3 separate regions of the Homo sapiens genome follow, and regions 2 and 3 are each linked to region 1. The links are contacts of gene promoters, found by promoter capture Hi-C in human tissues and cell types (Jung and others, 2019). All regions are on one chromosome and are shown on one strand. Each heading gives the region's core, a stretch centred on a gene start or on the middle of the fragment in contact. The rest is flanking DNA. Distances are from core to core; before and after follow the strand shown.

What was found. Contacts are between HindIII fragments. The study calls those that stand out against the background at their distance.
Region 2: a fragment that was not itself captured here is called in contact with the fragment with the promoter of CALML4 in region 1 in 1 of the 25 tissues and cell types used here (lymphoblastoid cells).
Region 3: a contact is called between a fragment that was not itself captured here and the fragment with the promoter of CALML4 in region 1, in 2 of the 25 tissues and cell types used here (dorsolateral prefrontal cortex and lymphoblastoid cells).

What each region holds. Positions count from the first base shown.
Region 1 is chr15:68,202,966-68,207,004 of GRCh38, forward strand. CALML4 (calmodulin like 4) reads right to left here and starts at 2,367. Exons shown (of 5, transcript NM_033429.3): 1 at 2,280-2,367; 2 at 2,156-2,186. The coding sequence starts at 2,282. CLN6 (CLN6 transmembrane ER protein) reads right to left here. Exons shown (of 7, transcript NM_017882.3): 7 at 4,027-4,039. RefSeq lists an enhancer at 3,066-3,360. The HindIII fragment of the contact is 22,474 bases long and covers 1-4,039 here.
Region 2 is chr15:67,456,838-67,460,876 of GRCh38, forward strand. The region is part of intron 16 of IQCH (IQ motif containing H); the gene reads left to right. The region is part of intron 3 of IQCH-AS1 (IQCH antisense RNA 1); the gene reads right to left. Among named protein-coding and RNA genes, the nearest start is that of C15orf61, 62 kb to the right of the region's middle. RefSeq lists an enhancer at 114-408. The HindIII fragment of the contact is 5,129 bases long and covers 1-4,039 here.
Region 3 is chr15:67,525,320-67,529,358 of GRCh38, forward strand. It overlaps C15orf61 (chromosome 15 open reading frame 61), which reads left to right. Exons shown (of 2, transcript NM_001143936.2): 2 at 1,099-4,039. The coding sequence ends at 1,226. Among named protein-coding and RNA genes, the nearest start is that of IQCH-AS1, 5.5 kb to the left of the region's middle. The HindIII fragment of the contact is 3,545 bases long and covers 382-3,926 here.

The sequences.
Region 1 (4,039 bases), core at 1,117-3,616:
CAGCACACCAGGCTAATTTTTGTACTTTTAGTAGAGATAGGGTTTCACCATGTTGGCCAGGCTGGTCTCAAACTCCTGACCTCAGGTGATCTGCCTCCCTCGGTCTCTCAAAGTGCTGGGATTACAGGCATGAGCCAACTGCACCTGGCCAGTTTTGTATTTTTAGTAGAGATGGGGTTTCACCATGTTGGCCAGGCTGGTTTCAAACCCCTGACATCAGGTGATCCACATGCCTCGGCCTCCCAAAGTGCTGGGATTACAGACGTGAGCCACTGCACTCAGCCCAAGTTTTGCCAACTCTTATATCCATTGCCAACCTATAGTTTCGATTCAACCATGATTTGACAAATGAAGCTGCGCGCCAATGAGTGCGATTCTTTTTCCAATGAATGAATGGTCATTAAACCTGATGTGATCTACTGTTAAACTATTTCTCACCCTTTTACCAAACACATTCATTAAATTGAAACTTCTTTCAAATCTCCATCTCCACTGATCACAATAGGGCTGTCTTTTTAACTTTTTGTACAGATAGATGTAGGGATTGAAACACTGTTTGATCCTACATTATTTAATAATGGCTGGCTTTAACATCCTGCTTGCAAAATTCCTAAAACTATGGCTCTTGCTAGCTGTAGTGAGCCAGCCCCAGCCCACATGTGGGTGACACCTGGCTATGCCTGGCCCAGCGTCCAGCATGTAACTGACATTATTCCCCTCTGTCCGTGGCTCGCAGCAGCCTGGTAAGGTGGCATATCCTACTTCATAGGTGAGAAAACCGAGGCTCAAGGGTGATTAGGCTTCAGGTCTGCTGCCTCCAAAGCCCCTGTTCTTCCCACTTCGCTAGGCCACCCCATCCAGTCTTTCACACACTCATTAAACACTGGTGGCCACTTTCTTGGTGTCAGATACTGGGATACAAAGACAATTTACCTTCTTCCCTTCTGGGAGCTTTGGCTATCCCAGGAGGGAGGGTCAGTGAGCCTCAAAACCAGGCATGGGTGGGAGGATGCTGAGGCTGAAGGCTGGACTCCAGCCCTCAGTCCACCATTCATTATCACCGTTAGACCTGGACAAGAGGGCACTGCCCCGGGCCCTGTGTTTTAAAAGTCCCTGCTCCTGCCCTGGCCCTCCTCTTGGGATAAAGAGTTCCAGGGTTCTACGTGGAGGTGCCCACCTGGAGCTCACAATTCCTGCCCCTCTGGACCAAGCTCAGAATACCCAGAACTCTGGAACTCCTGCCCAGGTAACCCTAACCCCACTTGGCTGGGCTCTCAGGACCCTACCCTGGATCACAAGGGCCCAAGGTGCCTGTAATTTTATCTCCAGTGGTCAGCGAAGGACTCACTGAGAAGGCGATGTTTCAGCAAAGACCTGGAGGAATGGGATGCCTCGGGGGACTCTCAGGCCCATTGACGTCCACTGTTGGGACAGGTTTCAGGGTCACAACCTCAAGCAGCAGCTGGCTGTGCCTCCTGGGCCTCTCCTGCCAGGTGCAGGGGGGCTGCAGCCATGAGGCTCCCCTGGCTCAGGTCTGGGCCCCCAAGTTCTTTGTAACGCAACTCTTTGCTCTTGGCCTTCTGGAAATAGAACCCTGCACGGTGTGAAACTGAAGCCTGGTCGAGGGCTGGCAGAGTAGGGGACCCAGGGAATAAAGTGCTCACGCCCAAACCAGGCTTGATGCCAGGGCAAAGGGGGCTCAGTGGACCCTCCATTTTACAGATAGGGAGACTGAGGCGCAGAGAGTAGACGCATCCTGCCAGAGAGTGCAGACCTGGCCTCTGTTCTGTCTCAATTACAAAGCCCCTCCTCTTTCCCTGCTGCCAGCCATACCTTTAATGGTCTCTCTCTCCATCCCCAGTCCCCTCAGTCCCCAAATCCAACTGGTCAGGTTCTGGAGGGAAACCTAGTAAGTTCTGTCTTAGCGCCCTGGCTTGTAAGTCACACTGACAAGTATAAAGCCACATGTCTATTTTGGAGGCTTACCCCCAACCCCCACCCCGCCAACAGCAGCCTCCCCGCAGCTCTTGGCCCTGGGTGGGCCCAGCTCTCCCACAGCCACCTTCCTTCCCACCAAGAAAACATGAGCAGAGCAAATTGCCTAATGAGACCCATATTTTGCTGAGTTGCTAATCAAAGAACAAACCCAACCTACCATTAATTTGGTCTTGGGAAAGAAACTTGGCCTGCAGCAGAGAAAGGAAAACAGTCAGGGGAGGGCTCCACCTGAGGTTCACGCCCCCAGCCCTGGCCAGGCCGACACAGACCCTCACACTCACCATTCTGGGGCCTCGGCTGCTACCCGTGGGCTTGCTGCTCCCAGAACCGCGTTCAGTTCCCTTTCCTCCAGCCTCAAGTCTAAAGTCTGCCAAGCTGGGTGGAGGCCCGGGTAATAAATGCTCGGCTGCCATGGAGACTGGGCCCGACGCCACCAGGGTCAGATTCCAGCTTCCTGAGCACAGCTCATGACCCGCCACCTGGGCAGGTTGGATTTTTGAGGAAATGGGGCTGCAGAAGGCTCTCCCTGGGCTCAGAGTCTCTGCCTCCAGAAGCCGAAGCAAAGGGACAAATGCCAGTGTTTCTTCCCGGGAGCCCTGGACTCCAGGAAGGGGTCTTCTCTCTCTCTCCTGGGACTCGGCGGGGATGCCATCAGGCCCCTACTAGAGTTGGACACTTTACACCCCGGGTCGTATTGAAGGCTCCTCACACACCATCTTGTAGGAGGAAGGGAACCCTTCCAAGACGGCCTAACTCAGAGATGGGCACCGGGGCTCGCAGGCTTGGGGCTCGGTATTGCAGGGATACAAGCTTCGGTGCTCTCAGGCTGGGATTCAGTCCTCCCCGTCTGCTGACTTGCTGAGTGACTGGCGAATCATTCTACCTCAGTCTGTGCCTCAGTTTCCTCACCAGCTGAATTACAGGGCAGCTGGCAAAATCAAGTGGCCAGCGCACAGCCGGTTCCCATCCTGTGCCAGTTCAGTTCCCACCTTCTGAGGACTTTAAGGGTGGTGGAGGGGCCTGAGCCGGGTCTCCAGCCCCACCACAGGCTCCTCGGGGGCTTGGAGTGAGGCCTCTTAGTGCCGGTTACCCTGGCCAGGAAGGCTCCCCTTTTCTTCCTTCCCTTCCTCTCTCCACCCTCAGCCCCACCCCTTCCGCAGAAGCTGCTGACGCTCCCAAGTCTTCAGGAGTTCGTGCTGCTCCCCTCCCCCACATAGGAGGAAATGGGGGCAGGGTGTGAGGCCTCCCCAGCTTCTTCCCCTTGAGATCCCATTTCCCTGTTTGGGGCGTGAGGCTTTTGTCCACAGCTGAGTCTATGAGGCTCTACAAGTAGGTGTGGCTGCACAGGTGTGCCCTACACAAAGGCCCCCAGCCCAGGTGCGAGTGGTTGCTGGCCAGGGGCTGCACTGCCAATAGGAAGGGGGGCATTGTGCCACTTTGCACACAGGCGCATAGACGGGAGGCGCTGCCTGTGCCCCACTCTCCCCTCCCCGCTCCTTTCCTGACCGCCTCTGTGTGGAAAGTGTGCTTTTCTCCCAAATCACATCCCCAGAATCGCTTTACACCTGTTTCTAGACCCAGAGAATTTTAGCTGGGGACTCCGACTCCTCCCTGTCAGAGTTTGAGGCTCCCCCTCCCAAACCCCATGGCAGGGATAAGAGGAGGGAAGGCTGCCTCTGTGCAGAGGATGGAGAGAAGGACATCAAGGAAAGTCACTTGGGACTCTGGAAGCCTGAAGGCGGCCAGGCCAACATGCTCCCTCTGAATCCCCTTGCCTGTGGGAAGGGGCTCCAGAAGAGATGAGGTGCCTCCTTGGAGTTAGGCCAGTGTGTGCTGGGGTGCCCCGGCCAACTCCCTCCTTATGTGTGTAGGTGTCTCCGGGGGTGACGCACAGATGGAAAACACCAGCGTGGGGCAATGGCTGCGTGAGGGTTCACGATACAGCAACTCACCATGCTGTAGGGCGCACCGTGTGTGCTACACCTCAGCACGAAAGGGAGAAAAGACAAAAAACACCTCTAACACCACTTGGGGCTGTGAC
Region 2 (4,039 bases), core at 443-2,942, 750 kb before region 1:
CAGATGGTTTGCAGCCTCTTACCCCACCCACTCCAAACACCCCATAGAAGGCAGTGTCCAAGGGGATTGGTACAGAGATGGAAGCTCTAGTTGCTCAAAGATAGCTTCGTGGAGCTGTGATTTAAGTCATGCCCAAAAAGATGAGTAGGATTAACAGAGACAGAGGGGAAGGCCTCTAAGCTGAAAACCAAGAGGCTCAATTGCTGACCGGGGTGACTGCCCTGTACAGCGACAACTGCCGTTCTTCACTTCTCCAAGAGACTGGGCTATCCCAACAGCTGCCACCAGGTGGCAACAAGCCAAGCGGCTGCTCTCCCCTCTGCCTATTGATTTAGGCAGAGGGCCTATTGCATTTTAATGTTATGCAAACAACTCTTACCAAATACCATAATCACATTAGTATTTTACTAATTGAAAATTCTTACAGTGGGGTGTACCAACTCCTTTAAAATTAAGCATGAGGTGTGTTGTTTACCACAATGGAGAGCTCCATGCTGTCTGGAGATTCAGTGATCCAAGTGGGGAAAAAATATGTCATTTAGTAACTGCCTAAGAAAACGTGTTCTGTTTATAATAGCTGGGATTCTGAGGCCTGTATTTAAATAGCATCTGCAAAGAGTTAAATGTGCTCCCTGTCTCTGAGAAGCAGGCAAGAACACAGAAGTCAAGAACCAAGTGAATTCTTACACCTGCTCAAACTCTGCTCCCAACAGTCAGATGGGGAAGAAGTGGTCAGGACCCAAAACAGATTTATGTCTGCCAGGCCTCTGTAGTAATAGTCTCACACACTATCTCATTTAGCCACTGAATCCACACATATCCCTCAGGGATAGATCCCATCAGGCCTATATTAATAGACAAGGAAATAGGCCCAGAGAGGGGAAAGAAGTTGCTTAAGACCACAAGGCCAGCACTCCCAGCGAGGTCCTGTGACTCTGGTCCAGGGCACTCTCTGTCCTGAGAAAGCCATCCACCTCTCCCAAGCCACGGTCCCCTCCAATCCCATTACTCTCAAGCTGTTGTCACTTTTCCCCTACCAAGCTGCCCCTGTCCTTCTCCACCTTACTGCATCTTAGCCTAAACGTGATGAGAAGTGGACTGAGCTGCCTCTGCCTTGTCCCCTGGGGAAGGCCTCAGGTCCTATAGACCTCACTTCTCACCAATCCAGGAGAATCTTGAGCCCCAGGCCCAGAAGTGAGAGCAGAGAAAAAGCTTCTTCCCTCCCAGGAACTGATTCTGTTTTATCCCTAGAGCCTAGCCATGCACATCCTCCTGATTTTACAGCTGCAAAAGGAGAAAAAGTGCCTGAGATTTCAACCCACCCTCTATAACATGCTGTAACAAAGGCATCTCAAACTTAACTGATCTGAAATCTTGATTTTACCCTCCAAGGTATTTCTCTGGCATTCTGCCCCAGTGGGAAATGGTAATGCTATTCTTCCATTTTCTTCAGGGTGGAAGTTTTGGAGACACCTTTGGCTCCTTTTTCTCATACTGCACATCCAATCCATCAATAAGTCCTTTTAGTTCTACTTTTGAAAAATATCTATAATACAACCACTTCTCCCACCTTCCAGTTACCAGTGTGGTCCAGCCACCATCATCTCTCACCTCAATTACTGCAAGTCTTCCTAACTGGACTCCCTGTTTCCATCCTTGCCCCCTCAGGGCCTCTTGTCAATGCAATTAGAGTCACATTAGTTAGCTCACATCACTCCTCCACTCAACACTCTCCAGTGCATTCCCAGCCTCCACAGCTGTAAAAAGGAAATAAGCCCTTGGCTCTGTACCTAGCCAAACCAGTAAAACAGAGGGAACCATGGCCTACCCATGGCTGTATTCTCTACCAACCAGAGGAGCTGGGCAGGTGACCGAGCACTTGGTCTTACTCTAGAAAAAATCAAGTGGTCCAATGCTGGATTTTCTGTCGAACTGGGGCTGTGAATGCTGTGAACATGGGCAGAGAGGTGACTCACACATCCCTTTGGCCAACCAGCTACTGAGCATGATGGGCCGTGTATCACAGTTCACCCTGAAGGCTGGATGCCATTTCTGGCGTGGGTGAATTCTCAGTACTGCATGTCTCAGAGTTGGCTTATTTGGAGTGCCTGTCTTTTTAAAAATTTTCGGCAATATGATAAATATACACAATTCCCTGTTAGCCTCATAGATACATCTGGAGGCAACAGAGGGAGGATTCACCCAGACTACTATCCCCAGTGAGTGATTAGTTAAGGAAAGTGTGGCCCGGAGAGGCAACTTCTTTTGGGTCACAGATATTTGTCTCAGACCCTGATACCAAAAGCTGGGGCCTTTAGTGGGTCATTTATCCTGTCTGAAATCTCTGGTTCTTCTTACAAAAAGAAAAAGAGGAAGAAGACGATAAGAAAACTTAGAGATGAGTCTGCAGAGCATCTTTGGATTCATAAAGCTCTGAAATCCTGATTCTTCAGTGAGTGTTATTTGATCTATAAATTAGTCTCTGAGTCCCATACGTGCCCTGATGCCCATAGGAGAAGGGTGGCAAGAGGCAACACTAAACCCTTTGCTGAGAACTTTATTTGCACAGAATGTAGGGCCTGAGCACATCTGCCCACATCTGCGTGCTCTGCCACCCATTCATCCCGCCTGTCACCAGAAAGAGGCAGAAGCAGCAGGGGTGAGCAGGCAGCCTCCATCTGCTGAGAACACCTCAGGCAAAAAGGGCTCAAGACCAGGCTTCTCTCCCACCCCTCCCCACACAGAAGCATGTTGCTACATTGTCATCTCAAAGCTTGCGGTCCAGATCCTTGGACCAGAACAATCTGGGCAAGCTGACCTTTGCCTGACTCCTGCCCTGTCTGCTGGCTCTCACCTGCCCAAGGCCTCCAGATGCAGCTGTGGTTCACACGGCATCCAGCACAGTAGCAGTCAGGGCAGTGGAGAGCAGGGGCCTCTGTAGCACTTCTGCCCTCTCCACCCCACTGGCCCTGCTCCTTTGCAGGCTACAATGCACTTCTTTACAACCAATCCAATAGAAATAGAATTCAGCCAGGCATAGTAGCTCAGGTCTGCAATCCCAACACTTTTGGAGGCCAAGGCGAGAGTATCATTTGAACGCAGGAGTTTGAGACCAGCCTGGGCAACAAGATCTTGTCTCTACAAAAAAGGAAAGAAAAAAAAATTAGCAGGGTTTGGTGGTGCAAACCTATTAGTCCTAGCTACTCAGGAGGCTGAGGCAGGAGGATCGCTTGAGCCCAGGAAGTCAAGGCAGCAGTGGTTTTATTATTATCTTATTATTAATACTTTCTTATTAATGAGATACTTTGCATTCTTTTTTACATCCTCAGTCCTCAAAATCTGGTGTGCATTTGTACCATTTCAAGTGCTCAATAGCCACATGAGGCTAGTGGCTACCATATTTGATAGTGCAGATCTAGAATATACATGGAAGTCTATATACAGTTGCAGTTATCGTGATTCTGCTAATGTTAACACTGGCTGGTAACATTTTGTTATATTCTCATCTAGTCTTTTCTACATATATTAGTTTTGCAAAGCTGAAGTCATGTTGCTTGTGTAACTTTCTATCCTCCTTTTGCTGTTTTGTGCATCTTCCTAAATCATCAAAAGTTCCTCACAACCACTGTCTCTAATTATATCAGACTATCCCATCACTTGGATGTGTCATAGTCTTTTTAGCCACTGCCAAAACGTTGGACAGCAAGTGTTTCAGTAATATAGGTAATACTGAGATAATTATTTTTTGTATTCCTTGTGCTCTTAAGACCTTAATATAAATCTCTCTAGCATTCTAACCATTTTTAACAAAGTGACCTTTAATCAGTCAAACAACTGGCAACAAGTGATTTCTGACTGACAGCTGAGACACCTTATGTTCTCATTACTCACCTCTGACACCTGGTTCTGCAACCTAGGGCAACCACTTCACTTTTCACACCACAGTCGCTCCATTTATAAACTGACTGTATTAGGTGATTTTTAAGGGTCTTTCCAGCCCTAACCTTCAGTGATATTTTTCCCCCACCCTCACATCTAA
Region 3 (4,039 bases), core at 904-3,403, 680 kb before region 1:
TAATTTTAAATAAGTACCTTTAAAAAGATAGGAATTGTGAAAGTTTGTTTTGTGCCAACAGTCTTATATGCATGTGAGTGCTTAATACATATCTCTGGATAGTGTGTTTAGTTTCATGTATCACAAATGGCAACTAATCTCAAAGCAGCAAAATCTTATCAATTCCAAAGAAGAAACACATGTTGGAGTCTACTATATATCTATTTCAAATTGGTTGAAATGAGGTTGTTTTCAGATCAATTGAAAAAATGCTAATAATAGTTTTTTTTCTCATGCCTGTTGTACTGAAATCTTACTTGGAGTTAGGTTTTGCTTTAGATTTTAAAGACAGCTCTTTGACCGAGCTTCTTTTAAGTTGTACAAAAATTACTTCAACCATTAGTGTTACTACTAACTTAAAGAACAGTAATGTTGGCCGGGCGCGGTGGCTCACACCTGTAATCCCAGCACTTTCGGAGGCCTAGGCCCAGGATCACAAGGTCAAGAGATCGAGACCATCCTGGCCAACATGGTGAAACCCCATCTCTACTAAAAAAGTACAAAAATTATCTGAGCGTGGTGGCGCGCGCCTGTAGTCCCAGCTACTCAGGAGGCTGAGGCAGGAGAATCGCTTGAACCCAGGAGGCGGAGGTGGCAGCGAGCCGAGATCGCGCCACTGCACTCCAACCTGCCAACAGAGTGAGACTCCATCTCACAAACAAACAAACAAACAGTAGTGTTAACTTAGTAATTTTAGCTCAAGGCTAATAATCAGGAGCGTCTACAACTAAATTAATGAGTATTCTTCTCCATTTTCTTATTTATGAAAAGAATATAGCATTACTTCATGATTATTTGAGGGTAATGAATTTATGAAGTACTCGAATTAACATTTATACCCGCCTTGTCTATAGTATGAAAACCTCTGGACTCACGTGATTGCCATCATGTGCCACGTTGATGAAATTGAGCTCTTAGATAATCAGAGTCAATGTTGATTAATATTTTTATATTTTATCACATTGTAATTTGTTAACATTGCTGAAGAGTGTTATACGTGATCAGTAACTTGCATGATTAATAAGCATTGATGTTTATACATATTCGTTTGTTTTCTAGGTATTCCAACTTTATTATATGGACTTGGCTCCTGGTTATTTGCCAGAGTCACAGAGACTGTGCATACCAGTTATGGACCCATAACAGTTTATTTTCTCAATAAAGAAGATGAAGGTGCCATGTATTGAAAGTGTGCGTCAAAGAACATAAATATCAGTGGATTTTCTCTGTGTATATGTGCAGTATTTATTTTTGATCCTTTAAAATAAAACTTTTGCAAATACTTTTTTCTTTCTACAGTATCTGCTTCTTTAAGATGAATCATTGCCCTCAAGAGGTGAAGCTTTTTATACATCGTTATATATTACATACTCTGTTTAGCTGATGTGAACTACAAACACATGAAGCTTCACACCATTTTTTCCCTAGAACTAGGTTAACCTACAGATAAAAAATGATTACAATGTAATAGATTCTATAGTTAATTAACAATTTAAATCAACTCTGAAGAGAAAATATAGATGCCCACACAAAAGAGAAGGGGGGAAAATCTTTTATGTAACAATGGAAAAAGAAGTAGAAGACATTAGGATGTATGATGGAAATATTACATCATTGGCAAATCCAAAATTGATGAGAATCTAATTGTAATCTCAAGTCTAAACCATTCAGCTGCCAGGATTGTAAATAGAAACGTTTTAAAGGCCTTGTGCCATTTACCTGGAGGAGGGGTTGGAGTGTAATGTTGAAACTTCTTGTTGCTTAAAGAGTCCAAAACCATATCGTTTGTAAAATGTAATAATAACTGGTTAATATAAGTGTAGCAAGGTGAATGAAACTCAGACTTATTAAAAGTTAAAACAGCTTTCCTATAAAGCTGTAAGAACAATTAAGATCTTCTAGAAAGATGCAGAAAAATAAATTTGGTAACTGTTTATAAAAGCAATTAACTGAAATGGTACATATCCATAGACTTATTGGCAATAAGGAGTGGGCTGAAATTTTAAAGACCTAATGGCACTTTTGCATTTGAATTTTATTAACTTAATTGCATTTTTGAAAGCCAAGTCATTTAAAAAAATGTATCCTTGGGGTAGTCACAAAATACCCAGATGAATGGTAAATTTCAGACATTTGGAGTAATTTAGGGAGAACTAAGTAGAACTATTTAATTTCTAAACCAATGGGTGTTTAAGATTTATGATCTCTCCCATAATTACAAACATACATTATATATCATTTTATGTTAATGTGTTGCTGATACTCTGCAACACTTACACATTTTTGTAGCAAAACATTTTATAAAATTCAACATTTGGATGCTTATGTCAAGTCAGTAGAGAAAGTGAGTGGAAGTGACTGAGGTGAAGGCACCAGAATAATGAAGTAATACAAACTAGCTTCGTTAAAGGTAGTCATTTTAAATGATCTACAGAGTGAACTGTTCTTCAAATATATGTGGTGTTCACTTGTCTAAAAGCAATTCTAAGTAACACTTTAATCAAAGAAGTACTTATGCCAATATATTTAGTCCAGAAGAATATACTTGACACTAGTTAAATGAATGGCTTACACAAAGGAGATAGTGTTACATTAAGCTTCATTAATAATAAAACAACTGGCTATTAGCATTTTGCAGGGAAGGCTAGAACTGATTTCCTCTGTAATGGGCAAAGTTAAATAACTATAGCTCATAAGTTTTAAGTCAAATACTGCTCATTCATTGCTGCTGGTCTTGTCAATAGTGGCTGTAAAGGTTTGGTCCCAACACAAGGCTGATAAAATGGTCTTTAATTACCAGACTATAAATACAGCTTTTCAGTAGAGTTGCACCTCTTTTCACACTGGCCTGTTTGATTTCTGATAATTTGTACTGCTGACTCTGCTTACCTGTTTTTCAATAGCTATAGTCAGTGTGACTTCTTGCCCATATGTGATAGGTAAGTGTCCTTGGAGAACATCTTTGACAAACTACCCTATTGATCTCTGTAATTCTCTGCTGCTTGCAGCATTAAACAGGGCCTTGATTTCTTGTCTGATGTGCTCACTGTATAACAAGTAAATGTAATATTTTCTTGTATTACATGAAAATCAATAGACCTCTTGCTCTTACGGAGTTGATCATGGTGAAGGATGAACTAACTCAACAATGGGTAAAGGCGTGGTTTAAAAATTTAAATATCATTCATTGGATTTATTAAGTCTTGTAAACTTGTAGTCTGAAAACAATACTTCCCATTGAACAGCAATGGTTTAAGTTTTTTCTTTAAAGCTGCATATTACACCAAAGTATTATGGCCTGAAAGGGAGAAAGTATAAATGTGTAAGTCAGGAGACTGAGTCTATTTTTAGTATTGGTGCTGTCTTACTTTTTGACCTCAGGCTAATAACTCTCCTCCTTTGTGTCTTGGTTTTTCCACCTGTAATCTGAGAAGAACGAAACAAGAGACATTTCTACCCGAAAATGTACATCAATTTTACTTTTGTCTCTGCAAAAGCTCTGTTTTTATAATCCACATTCTTCTGCTCCATTATACTTAAAGGACTTCATTAATTAAAAAATTTCAAAAATAAGGTGATGGAGAAAGAAGGAGAGATGCATTGATAGCACATGCCCACTAACCCTGAAGTGGCATGTGGGGAGCTGAAGAGGCCCTTCTCTTCTGCATATCAGTAGTTTTCTTAATTGGTGAAACCACTGATTAGCTTTTCTGTCATATTTCTTTGACAGGATTTTTATCTTTAATCCAACCAAAACTGTTTTAATAAAGGTGTACTTTTAGTACAAAACCTTGCATCTCTTCTATTGTTATTTCTATACAAATGAATTATCACGTATTGGAATAAATTTCTAGGCAAATTCCTAGGCAAAATTCTTAGTTCCTGTGTAAGTTGTGAGCCACTATAAAGATGCAGTAACCTATTTGGGAGCGTGAGAGAGGCTGCTAATACAAAAATCTCTATTTTCTTAGTGTTGATGTCCTAAAATGCCAAATTGTAG